Linked DNA regions of Homo sapiens: region 1 is linked to region 2. The links are contacts of gene promoters, found by promoter capture Hi-C in blood cells and fetal thymus (Javierre and others, 2016). All regions are on one chromosome and are shown on one strand. Each heading gives the region's core, a stretch centred on a gene start or on the middle of the fragment in contact. The rest is flanking DNA. Distances are from core to core; before and after follow the strand shown.

What was found. Contacts are between HindIII fragments. The CHiCAGO score rates a contact against its expected background, and 5 or more counts as called.
Region 1: a contact is called between a fragment that was not itself captured here and the fragment with the promoter of ITK in region 2, in 8 of 17 cell types (non-activated CD4 T cells, activated CD4 T cells, naive CD8 T cells and 5 more). The highest score is 23.5, in non-activated CD4 T cells.

The regions. Positions count from the first base shown.
Region 1 is chr5:157,284,938-157,291,689 of GRCh38, reverse strand. CYFIP2 (cytoplasmic FMR1 interacting protein 2) reads right to left here. Exons shown (of 31, transcript NM_001037333.3): 2 at 6,212-6,351; 3 at 4,582-4,671. The coding sequence starts at 6,328. Among named protein-coding and RNA genes, the nearest start is that of CYFIP2, 22 kb to the right of the region's middle. RefSeq lists a silencer at 1-27 and enhancers at 4,050-4,550, 4,551-5,051. The HindIII fragment of the contact is 2,652 bases long and covers 3,113-5,764 here.
Region 2 is chr5:157,178,947-157,185,304 of GRCh38, reverse strand. ITK (IL2 inducible T cell kinase) reads right to left here and starts at 4,465. Exons shown (of 17, transcript NM_005546.4): 1 at 4,190-4,465. The coding sequence starts at 4,327. The HindIII fragment of the contact is 39,229 bases long and covers 563-6,358 here.

The DNA of each region.
Region 1 (6,752 bases), core at 3,189-5,688, 110 kb before region 2:
TGTTGTCCTTGAGAACAGGGAGAACCAATCAAGCCCGTGGGTCCCGCAGTCATCTGCCTCAGAACACATGTCCAAAAGGGGAAGTGACAGTCACGTAAGGAACACGTGTCTACTTGTAGCACCAACCTGCCTGCCGACGGGTGTTAATTCCGACTCATGCATTCAGTGAATGTTTAACTGGGCACTCATGGGTCCCAGGCTCTGTGCTTTGTGCTGCAAACAGCGCAGTGAACAAGAAGAATGTGAACTCTGCCCTACGGACAGTTTGGCCATCAGCCAGATCTGTCATGCAATTATGCTAGAATGTAGAGGTTAGGATGGTGCAGTGGAAAGAGCCCTGGGTGGGGTCTTGGGAAACTTGAGTTCTGGTCCTCACTCTTCTTGGGCCCACCTTTTAACTTGTAATGTCTTAGTTTCCTTACTTGGAGGTAAAGAGTTGGCCTGAATCATTCGTGTTCAACCCTTGTTGTATATTAGAGTCACCTGGGGAATTTGATGCCTAAGCCATGCCCCAGATTAACTAAATATTTATCCCTGGGGATGGGGTGGGGCACTGGTGTTTTTAAACAATCCCCAGGTTGATTCTCTTGTGCAGCCCACATTGACAGCTTCAGGACTAAGGATCTCTAAGGTCCTTTACATTTCTAATATTCTGAAAGTCCATGACTTAAACCCAATGTGAGTGTAGCTCAAATTTTATGTAGTGACAGATCCAGTGATCACTCAGCCCCCATCTCACCCCAGCAAAGAACCCTCAACTCTTCCATATAGTTGGTCAGTTATGTGGTTTACGTACTTCCCCTCCTCCTCTTTTCTCTGGCTATCCTGTCCTTTGAGAGATTCACCTTGCCCAAGTGGGGACAGGAGACATACAAGAAGATGAGCATCTCATACACCCACATTGCTGCTAATAAGCTACCTTAGAAAGACTGGGGAAGGCACGAGGAAGACACTGTTGACTGAAGGGAGATTTTGGTGTTATCCAGGAATGTCAGCATTGCATGCCACTCATGACTCATGCCTAAGCCACATCAACACTCTCCCTGTGTAGGCAGAATAATGGTCCCCCCAAGATGTCTGTATCCTAATCCCTGGTGCCTGTGAATATGTTCCTTCACATGGAAAGAGGCAATTTGCTGATGTGACCAATTAAGAGCCTTGCAATGGGGGTAGGCGGGTGGTGGTGGTTGTTCTGGATTATCCTGGGGAGCCCAGTGTAAACACAAGGTACTCATAAGCAAAAGAGGGAGGCAGAAGAGTCAGAGAAGGAGATTTGAAGATGCAGGCAGAGATCAGAGTGATGTCACTGCTGGCTGGGGGCCACGAGTCAAGGAATGTAGACACCTCTAGAAGCTGGAAAAGGCAAGGGAACAGACTTTCTCCTGGAGCCTGCAGAAGGAATGCGGCCCTGCTGGCACCCTGATTTTAACTCAGTAAGACCCACGTCAGACTTCTGACCTACAAAACTATAAGCAAATAAATCAGTGTTCTTCTAAGCCACTAAGTTTGTGACACTCTATTAGGGCAGTAACAGAAAATGAACACTATCACTCTCCAACCTAACCCCTCCTTCCGACTGCTCTGTTGGTGTCTTGACCTGGTCTTCCTGGGAACTCAGTCAGTGCAGTCCCAGGTGACTGCTAAGCCAGTGTCCCTCACATCCATATCCTCTTAGCTGTACCCCAGTGCCATCACCCTCATTCAGCCTTGAATGCCTGCAGTGTAGATAACTTTAATTATCTTGACTAATTTATTTGCCTCATTCCTACTTGCAACTCATTCTACATATGACTAACACATGGAATCTGTCCCCCAAGCTGCGTTCTGTTCATATCTCTTTTAAGGATAAAGATTTTTCCATTGTTTTTAATTTTTTATTAAATAAACTAAAGCCTTCTGTTATGGGCTGAATTGTGTGCCCCCCAAATTTATAGGTTGAAGCCCTAACCCCACAGGACCTCAGAATGTGACTGTATTTGGAGACGGGGCCTTTAAAGAGGTAATTAAGTTAAAATGAGGCCATTAGAGAGGGCCCTGATCTAATCTGACTGGTGTCCTTATAAAAAGAGGAAATCTGGACACACAGAAAGAAGGTGCCAGAGATGTGTGCACACAGAGAAGAGACCATGTGAGGATGCAGAGAGAAACAGCCATCTGGGAGCCAAGGAAAAAAGTCTGAGGAAAAACCGAACCTACAGACACCTTGATCTTGGACTTCTAATCTCCGGAACGGGGAGGAAATACATTTTTGCTGTTTAAGCCATTTAGTCTGTGGCACTTTGTTAAGGTATCCAAGCCAACGAATACACCCTCTATGCCCCGACCCTTTATTTGTAGGGAATCTGTAAACAATATCCCTATATGCACTTTACAGTCCATACCAGTCACTCCTCGAAAATCCTTGCCCTGTGCCTTTGCTCACACCAGCTCTTCCACATGGTGTGCTCTCCCCGTCTCATCTCTGACTGGTAAAATTCTAACTGTGTGAGACAGCACGGAACAGGAGAAAGAGATCAGGACTGGCAATCAGTCCTGGATTTCAGGTCCAGTCCTGTGATTTACTGGTTGTGGGATCATGAGCAACCTGCTTATTAACTTTTCTAGGCCTCAGTTTTCTCATCCCTAAAATGGATATAATGATCCCTTTGCAAGTCACAGGGCTGTTATAAAGCTCCAATAATATAATATATGAAAATGCCTTACATATATTTTAAAGTATACTGTATCTACAAGGTATCATTATCCTCCTACAAGGCCTCACACAAAAGCCACTTCCTACATCAAGCTTTCTCTGACTCTCTCAAGGTTCCTTCAAAAACACAGAACTTTGAACTTTTACCATGACATTTACCCTTAACTTCGTGTATTTTTGTTTGTCTGCAAGGCATAGTCTGGAGCAAAGGTTTTGTAGTCAGGCAGACCTTGATCTAGAGCTGTCACTTGTCAGCTGCAGGACCCTGAGTAAGTTATGCAATTTTTTTGGGCTCCAGTTTTCCCCATCGGCAAAATGGATATGATAATAGAACCTACCTCACAGGGTTGATGTCAGGAGCAAATGAGACAATGCATCTAAAATATCTGTATAGAAAAAGCATTCGATAAATGGTAAGCTTATCTATTTCCCACTTGACTCACTGAGGATCAGGACTGGCCCCTATCTGCCCTTGCATACCTCTCCAGCATTTACACAGTCCTCTGAGGGCACCAGCCACACAATACTTATTGAATGAATGAGCAGGGTTTGTCAACACAAGGTTACGGGAGATAACCAATACAGTGCTGTGGTTGGAGTGTGTTCCCCAAAGTTCATGTGTTAGAAACTTAAATCTCCAGTGCAACAGTGTTGAGAGGTGGGATCTTTAACAGGTGATCAGGTCATGAGGGCTCTACCCCCATGAAAGAATTAATGCTGTTATTATGGGGGTGGGTTCCTCATAAAGGATGAGTTTGGACCCCTTCCCTTTCTCTGCCACCCATGTCATGGCTTCTGCCATGATATGATACAGTAAGAAGGCTCTCACCAGATACTGCCCCCTCAATCTTGGACTTTCCAGCCTCCATAATCATAAGCCAATAAGCCACTACTCTTATTTTTTTGAGATAGGGTCTTGCTCTGTTGCCCAGGCTGGAATGCAGTGATACGATCATGGCTCACTGCAGCCTCAACCTCCTGGGCTCAAGCAATCCTCCCACCTGAGCCTCCCACGTAGCTGCGACTATAGGTGTGTGCCACCTCACCCGGCTAATTTTTAAAATTTTTGTAGAGACAGGGTCTTGCCATGTTGCCCAGGCTGGTCTTGAACTCCTGGGCTCAAGGGATCTTCCTACCTCAGCCTCCCAAAGTGCTGGGGTTATGGGCATGAGCTACCATACTCAGCCTAAACTTCTATTTATTATAAATTATCCAGTCTGCAGTTTCCTTGTTATAGCATCACAAAACGAGCTAAGACATATAGTGTCAAAGGTCTATGGAGCCACAGGCAGGGTTTATGGAACCACAGGCAGGGTCTATGAACATGGAATTTGGAATTCTTTAAATTGCAGTGCTGCATGAGAATAAAATCAATGGAAGCCCAACAGAGAAGGGGAGGAGCCCTCCACAGATGAATCAGACTCTAAGAGAGAAAATAATAACTGGCCCTATTTGCAAATGATTTAGGCCATCAGCTTTTTTGAGTAACTGTTATTCCAAAACCAAAGCCAATGTCCCTTTTTCAAGGAACCTTTTGCTCTGCTCAAGAGACAAAATTCCACACATTCATTAACCTATAAACAAGGCAAGATCCAATCACATGTTAACCCAAAAAGCTATAGGAGCTCAAGAAAGTGAGTAGTGGAGACTAAGTTGGGCCCTAACAGTTGAGTAGGATTCCCAAAGCTGGACAATAAAGGGGAACTGTATGTTTCTAGGCACCGACAGGGGATGGCGCAGAATGTAAGAGTGGGCTTAAGCAGATGATTCTGACTGAGGCAGGGGGTTCTTAGAGTAGCTGAGCACATGCCTCTGGTGTGAGAAGCTGCCCGCGGCCCCTGCCAGCCCAGCAGGGAGCATGTCTGCACACGTGGGTCACAGAGACTTACCATGCTGGAGTGGACTGTAGCCTGCTCAATGTACCTTGCAATGCCCGTGACAAATGCATTCCTGTCCTCAAAGTTTGTGTCAAAGTTAGCCTGTGGAATTAGAGGACAGGAACATTTTGGTTGTTAGAAAACAGTTCCAAGTTGGCTGGGTGTCCAGAGGGCAAACTGCTGCCAACAAACAACGCAAGCTCTCTGTGGAAACCTCCTGCTGCGTCACCTTTCATCTTGCCCCTTCCCCACAAAGTCCCACTCTCAATCACACTGGGCAGGAGCTGGTGATGACAGGGTCTGCCGTCTGCTTCCCATCAGTAATCAGGTTCACTCATCTGAGCTTCAGAAGCAGATGCTTAAACTCCACAAGCCCAAATAGCTGCTAAAAGTTAAGATGTGCATTGCTTTGATTCGGCAGTTCCAGAAATACTCACCCAAGGGTGTGGATATATAGGTACAAGAATAATTACTGTGGCTGTTTTTTGTGATTAAAACAAACTGTAAACAACCTACATATCCATCAACAGTGAAAGGCTAAATATATATATATATATATATATATATACATAAAATAGCATATCCATAAATGGACTTTTAAGTACCATGAGGTGGCTAAGCCTAATGTGGTAGTATTGTGGTATTGTCATGGAAAAATATCCATAATAAATTTTAAGTTAAAAAGCCAACTCACAAAGCAATAAATATAGTATGGTTCTCTATTGGTTAAAAAAAAAATATATGTATATATATATGCATATATATACACACACACATATATATGTATATTTGGTAAAAAAGGTATATATCCGCATAGTTATAGAAAAAATTTATATGTTTTTGTATACTTTTTTGTATACTTTTCTGTATTGCTTATAATAAAAAAGATATTTGTATAATTAAAATTTTAATCTGGGTTAGAAGATGTGAATCAATGAAGTTTATGGGCCGAACCTTCAAGCATGTACTTCATACATCTACTGAATGAAATTTAAGAATTTATTATGTATTTATATTTAGTCTCCTGTAGCAATCTGAGAACTATCAAAAGGTCAAACACAGCTAAGACTTTCAAATTAGCATATCCTTTCTTAACATGGCATCTGGCCTGGCACACCCAGACAAGGGGCTATACCGACTCCCGGCCCTGATAGGTCATAGTTTGGAACAATCTGATGGTGGTTTATCACAAGCTTTGCTCTCTTAGGCAAAAGCAAACAACTGTGACCAGCTTCCCTGAGCCATGAGCTGCTATGAGGTGTTGTAGTGCCCTCCTCACATGCATGAAGGAAAAGTAATTACCCAGGCAGGCTCTGGGGTTTCTAAATTGCAATATTTAATTCATGAGGCCAGAGCTGCCAAAACCTTGGTTGGTACAGCAGCAAGAATAGCCTGGAAGGTATTTGGGGTCAAAGCAGATCAACAAGACTTCCCTGGGGGAGGGAGGGAAACAGTCCTGCGGCACATTTAGTAGCTAATCTGTTCCTTATACTCGGCTCTACCAGCGCACAAGGGACTCCATCAGCTCACAACCTTTCACCTTCTAGATGCAGACCTCCCCTTCCCTCTGCCTTAGGGCAAACTCTCTTAGGGGATCCCCAGAATTCCTGGGCCCCCTGGTGCTATCTACCATTTCCATTACCTGGTACATGATGGAGGAAGGTGGAGGCTCGATGCATGGCTGCTGGTCGGGGAGGGGAAGCTCTTCAAGCAGGTCCACGTTGGACAGGGCATCTTCCAGGGTGACGTGCGTGGTCATGGCTGCAGTTTCTGTATTCTGCACTGAAGGGAAGGAAGAGAAGGTCAGTGGAGAATTTCAGGGGCCTCTAAAATTCCTCTTAACCGCACCATGACCAGCATCCTTTGGGAGAATAAAGAGAGTTAAAATGCATTGAGGCCACTTCCACTCACCACTTCTTCCCAAGGTGCTCTCGATGTGTATCTTTTACATCTCAGGATCTCTTTATGGCTAACAAGGTATTTTGTGTGCACTTGGTTGAGCCTCACCACCACCCTCTGTGATCAACATGGAAGGTGGTACCCTATCCATATAACTGATGAAAAATCAAGGCTCAGAGAAATTATGTGATGCCCACACAGTCACGTGACCACAAGCGAGGGACCTCAAGTGGGATGTGAGAACATAGGTCATGGTTAGTTTCTCCACCTTTTGTTCTTCATAA
Region 2 (6,358 bases), core at 3,216-5,715:
GTGGCACCACTGTGCTCCAGCCTGGGTGACACAGCAAGACTCTGTCTAAAAAAAAAAAAAAAGATAGCTTTTTAGAGAATTGCACAGCATTATATAATTTATACAAAATCACACAGATCAAATGTGAGCTAGTTTTTGACCCAGATCTGTCTGATTCCAGAAGCAGTGTTTGTGATCACTAGCAGTAATGCTTTCAAAAGCAAGGAAAGGGGACCATCTCCCCACCTACCATCTTTAATTTAGAAAGGATGCTTGCTGCAAGCAGGAGATGGTTCTGTTGCTAGATAAGACTGTAGGCTAAAGGGAAAAGGCCATGAGGAGTGGAGACCCTCACCCAGATGCTTACTGGAATGGTGATCTTGACTGTTTCTCTTGTTCCATGTAAATGATAATGCCTCCCACATCATAAGGAGCACAGCACACTTGATCCCTAAGGGGCAAAGAGTCATCAAAATAGGAGAACCTTTCCAGTTCTCCAGAGGGGCTTTCAGAAGACCAAGGTGGTGCTTGGGCAAAATTGTGAGTAATAATCACCTTACCATGTAGCAATTGGTAAAAAGCTTATAACATACTTTTCTCATGAAATACTCAACATCACTTGAAGTAGGTAGTGTTGGGGTCCTTACTTTACAAATAGGACACAGGCAGAAAGAGGTCAAGTGTCTGGTCTGAGATCCCACATCTAGAAAGTGGCCACGTGAGCCACACCAATCTATGATGCTTTATTCCCATTTAGGCTGCCTCTTCCATCCTGTGCTTACTCAAAGTGCCTGAGGCTCTCCATTTTCCCTTTACCGCTGAAAAGGATCCGATATCAGTCACATGCAACTAAGTATGCTGTTTAGTTGGTGGCTACCTCTCCAAGGATCATTTGTACTTAGGCTTGCCGACGGTGTGCTGGACTCGGCTTGTACTGGCCCGAGGTAGCTAATTGTTAAGTTTTCAGGAATCTGTGAGCCAGCAGACATCACATTGGTAGTTTAAAATGGGCCATGATGGGAATATTTACACCAAAGGAATTGGCAAACACTATGAATCAGGGCTCTCCAACAAGCCCTGTACTCGGATTCCTAAGCATTTACCAGGACATCCATGTGCCCTTATCTCTCATTGTCCTCTGTCATAGAATTTCAGGCATCAGGGACAACTTGGAAAAAAATTGACAGGCACAGGAGAGCCTCTGAAATCATGTCTGTCTGCAAGCTACCACCTGCCAAATCTATGCTTCTTTCTGGCCCACTGCTCCAGCAAGATGAAGGCGCTTCTTGGCCCCTCTGAAAACACTTGCACATCTCAACAGGAAAAACAGGCATCGAACACCAGAACTAAAACCATGTTAAAGTAAAACCTCAATCAATTAGTATTATAATGACAATAGGCATGATTTTTTAGGTTAGAATAAACATACTTGATTTCTAGAATTACAGAATATGTTCTTGAGTATGTAGAAGGGTTATTTTTCATATGGTGTTATAAATTCATAGAATATGAGAACTGCAAGAATCATAATTTTACACATGAGAAAAGAGAAAAAGAAGCTCTGACACCCGACACCCTAAGAGGGGCAATAACTGGCCAAACAGCTCATAATGCATGTATATCTACCCCACAAAACTTATATTTAGCCACAGAATAGAAGGAATCCAGGACCCTGATCTTAGCTTGACTTTGAAGAATCCTTGAATATCTCCCATAATTTGAAAATGAATTGTTATGACAGCCTGCTAGCTTCTGTAGAGACATGAAAGGGATACAAATAATGGTTAATTTTTACTAGATGCTTACCAGATGACAGGGCCTATGCTAAGTACCTAATATATTAAGTTGAATTGTTTGAAACTTCTAATATCTGATATTCGATCTGCCAAATAATTTCAAAAAGTTCAGCCTAAAGACATTATACCTCTGAGTCTTTGCCATCTTCCTATGAAATGGGTACTATTATCACACCCATTTTACAGATTGAAAATGAAGCCTTTAATTTAAAAATGAAAATGTTCTTCCCATAAGTGTAATGTTATTTACTTATGAGTAATATTAATGCAGCCTTGTGTGCAAATTGGTGGCCTGAAACCATGTAGTATACCTAAGACATGAACAATAATAATTCACATATATTACCTTTTTCAGGGAACTTGGATAAATTTCTAATTAATAAACTTCTATAATAATTAAATAATTAAAGAAATACTTTTAAAATGTTATTTATAAGAGTAAAAAAGGCATTAGAAAACAAGAAATTTGATGTTTGGACATGTATTCTCTATATCTCACATGGAAGAATTAGAAACTGTAGCCTAGGGCTCCCCAGAATGAAGTAATTGTCTTGAAATTTTCCATAATGCTCAGATAAAGAAGTAGGGTGATTTTACAACCTTGTCTACATGCAAATTATGACCAATAATATTCTGAATTAAGGCCATCTGGTTTTGTGATTACTTACAAATAATATTGAGCTGAATTCACAATCAGTTCACAAATAGCAGTTGGGCTAAGGAATTATTAATACTAACTAAATGAGATGATACTATGTTGAATCAGAAAAACGAACTGGTGAAAACTGCAAAATGGACTTTGAAAAAAATATTTAAAGGTACATGACTGTTCTTTCAATATGAAACAAAAACTTTAAATGTTCCATTCACAAAAAAGCATTGAGTAATGCCATGCGATTTATTAGCTCTACATGATAAATCCCCCAAGTTCACAAACTGGGCTCCTGGCCACCTAGCAAAGAGGACTTGCACGTAATTCCATGTGTTTTCTGATTGACTGGTAAATTGTTATCAGTAAGAGTCTGATAATAAGACAAGCAATTCTTTTCACTTCTAAAGAGGCAGAGCTATTTCGCCTGCAACTTTTTTGTTTTCTGTATTTTTTTAATTCACAAAAGACATGCAACACCTGCAACTTTAAAAAGTGAGGCATCCATAGGCTCTATACCCAGCCTGACCTCCTCTGGAGCTCCATCTCATGAAGTGCTTTAAACCCTGGCACACCAAAGAATCCCAAACTCATGCCACCACCTACTAAGTCAGACTCCAACAAAGAACTGGAGCACTTTTGTTTCTAAGTGACCATCAGGCACCTAATATTATTTTCCCTTCAGTAAAATATAAGTGATAATCCTTGTCCTACCCCACTAATGATGTAAAAATAATATAACCATACAGTAAGAAATCAAACATGCTTTGAAAAATTGCAGCATAGGGCTAAACAAGAGCCACTGCATAAAGCAAAGAAGTTTTGAAGAAGAAAGGGATCTTGAAGGTTGTTATTTCCAGTTTTTTCATTTTATGAAGAAAGAACCTGAAACAGGAGGTAGACATTTGCCCAGACTGGATCACCTACTGAGAAGTAGAGTTTGGTCTCCTGACCCTTTGTCCAATGCTTTTTCTACCAAACTACATTATTAGGATTATTCCTGTTGCTTTTGTTATTAGTGATGTTAAGAAGCACAAGACTATTTTTAGATAAAGAGATAGACTGACCTAGCAAAGCAGCCATACTCCTTCTGGGTAAGAACCGCTGGTCTGCACTGCAGAAACTTTGTTCTTAATAACCCTGGTGTCCTAAGAAGTCTATCAAGAGATGAAGAGGTTTGCCATTGTGCCTTACAACTTTTAGATAATTAAATGCCTGGGAAATCTTATTTCAAGATCAGGCTAGCGACGAGTATTGAGACAAACAGAGTTATTCATGAAAACGTTAACACTGAACCCAAAACTTAACCATTCTAAACACCAGTTTCTTCCACTAAAAAATAAGAAAGCTGGGGTAGATCATCCCATTGAATGCTAGTGTTGTATTAATCTATGTTTCATTAAATTTAGTATGTTTCATTAAATTTAGTATGTTTCATAGAAAGTTCAAGTTTTATCGAATCATAATACTTGCTACCTAAAATGTTATTCATAATTTAAAAACCAAACATAACCTTGCAGGGGGAAAAAGCTGATGAATGTTAAATTTACAGTTTTTAGAACTGAAATCACCTAGCACCACCATTTCACCTCTTGACTGCTCTCTGCATTCTCCTCTGATTACTTTTACTGTACTTTTTATGTTGTTACAATAAGCATGTTTGTGTTTCCTGTGCTCTATTTTATGCTATGTATATATTTTTGCATTAGCCCAGTCCAAACATAAAATGCTATGCGAAAAAAGACAAATGAAACTGCTCACATACCCCATGACGATCTTCAAAGTATGCCAGGCTGGCTTTGGTTAACACAAAGAAGCGGACTTTAAAGTTCGAGGGAGAAGTTCTTCTCTTTTGTTGGGATTTCTTGATGAGCTGTTCTTCCAGGAGGATAAAGTTGTTCATGATCCAGTTCTTGAAAGGTGGTGCACCTTGGGCATCACCTCTTAGCACAACCAAAGGAAAGAGTTTTGGGGCAAAGAATGCAATGTGGAGGCAGTTGATCTTCAGAGAGCTGCTCAAGGGCAACTTGCCTTCAACGTTATCTTTCTATCAACGTTCAGCCAACATAGCTGAGCTTCTCCTCTGATGTCAAAGGCCGAAACCACATCCTTTCAAAATTCACAAAACGAGGAGGCATATGTAAAAAATACATACAGCCTTTGCTAATGGCTTGAAATGATATTTGAAAAACTGTAAACTCAAAATTGTGGTAAGGATTACAGTTTAATCTTTATAGTTCCTGGTTTAATCCATCCAGCAGTTAAATCATGTAGCACAAGGAGTAAGGACAATGTGTGGTTTTGCTTACCATGATATACTCAGCAACCATCACAGTACCTGACACATAAAACAGATGTTCAAGAAAAATTTGTTGAATGGATCATCACCAAATTGGGTTGGACAATTAAAAGAGGTAATGAGCACAAAACCCTCACACATTAAAGTGAAGAAATATGTTGCTGAAGTTTATTAGTTTTTAAGATTTAAATTAAAGCCCATAGAAATTTCTCAATGCTACATATAGATGACTGCCTTTCTGTCCTGACGTTTTGTGGAAGAGTGAAAAATAAGTGAATCCTTCAGAATGGCATAATAAACAAAGTATATGTGGGCTTTGAAAACAGACAAACTTGTGTTGGATTCCCAGCTCTGTCACTTACTATGCTGTTTCTCTTTGAGCAAGCCATGACTTCTCTGATCCTTAGCTTCCTTGTGAGGGTCCTTTGGAGGACTGAATCCCATACATCTTATGAATGGTAGGTGCTAGTCATACATGTCACCTTAGAGTTAGTACATAGTTGAAGTATAATGTGTGACAGTTACCTCTACTATGTTAATAATCAAGAGATTTTAGTGTAAGCAGATATTGCATGTAGTGGGTAGGGATAAATAATAAATGAAATAATAATTATTGCTGTATAGGAGTGAAATTCTCCAATGTTTATTTTTAAATGTAAATTACCAGACAACAGCCTAATTTTATTTCATATACTGGATGCCCCAGCATAATCAAGACACCCAGGAGGGTACGGTACTGGTATATTTTAAATTACCTCCCCCATTCTGAGATTCTTAAGACATATGTGTGGAAATACACTGCCCAAACAAGATAGTATTTTTTTTTTCTGAGTATGGGCTTGAGGTAGGGATTGCTACTATTCCCAAATAGCTACTCTCTCCTTCTTACTAGAGTAACAGAATCCCTGACAGTTATCTGGGCATCTGGCCAGCAAGAATAAAGACTACAAATTTTAGCCTCCCTTGTAGCTAGGTGTAGTTGTATGACTGTCTTCTGGTCAACTGAATGTAGCAGAAGTCGTGTGCACAACTTCTAGGAAATTTCCTTAGTGGGATCTGTCATCCCCTTTTCTTTCCCTTTTCCTCCTGCCTTGTGACTAGAATATTGAGGTAACAGTTGGAGCTGAAGCAGCTATCTAGTATCATGAGGTGGAAATTGAATGTTGAGGACAATGGAGTATAAGATAGAAAGAGCCTGGGACCCTGGTGACCATGGATCTTCCATGCCAGCCCTGGATTACATTTTTTAATATCTATTTTCTAAGTCTCAGTTATTTTGAGGTTTCTGTCACTACCAGCAAACCTAGATAATACAGTGCTATCTTCTCAAACTAGACTACAAACTCCTCTGAGGAAAGTACATTTTACACCTGCTTGGTTCAGATGAAAAGAGTTATAGACTTCACAAAGTGTTCTCATCCGGGAAAACAAAATATCATCAGTAGCTGTTGCAATACTTAGGAGTCTTTCGTTTGCTCAGTCTACATGGAGTGTCATCGTAAGTAATTTTATTCTCTTTCTCATAGAGCCATCAAACCCACTAACTGAGACTCATCTTTGCCAACTTTTAAATGCAAACTTAGGAGGCTCAATATTTTTTTCTCACTTTAAGGAAAACATAAACAAAAACAAATA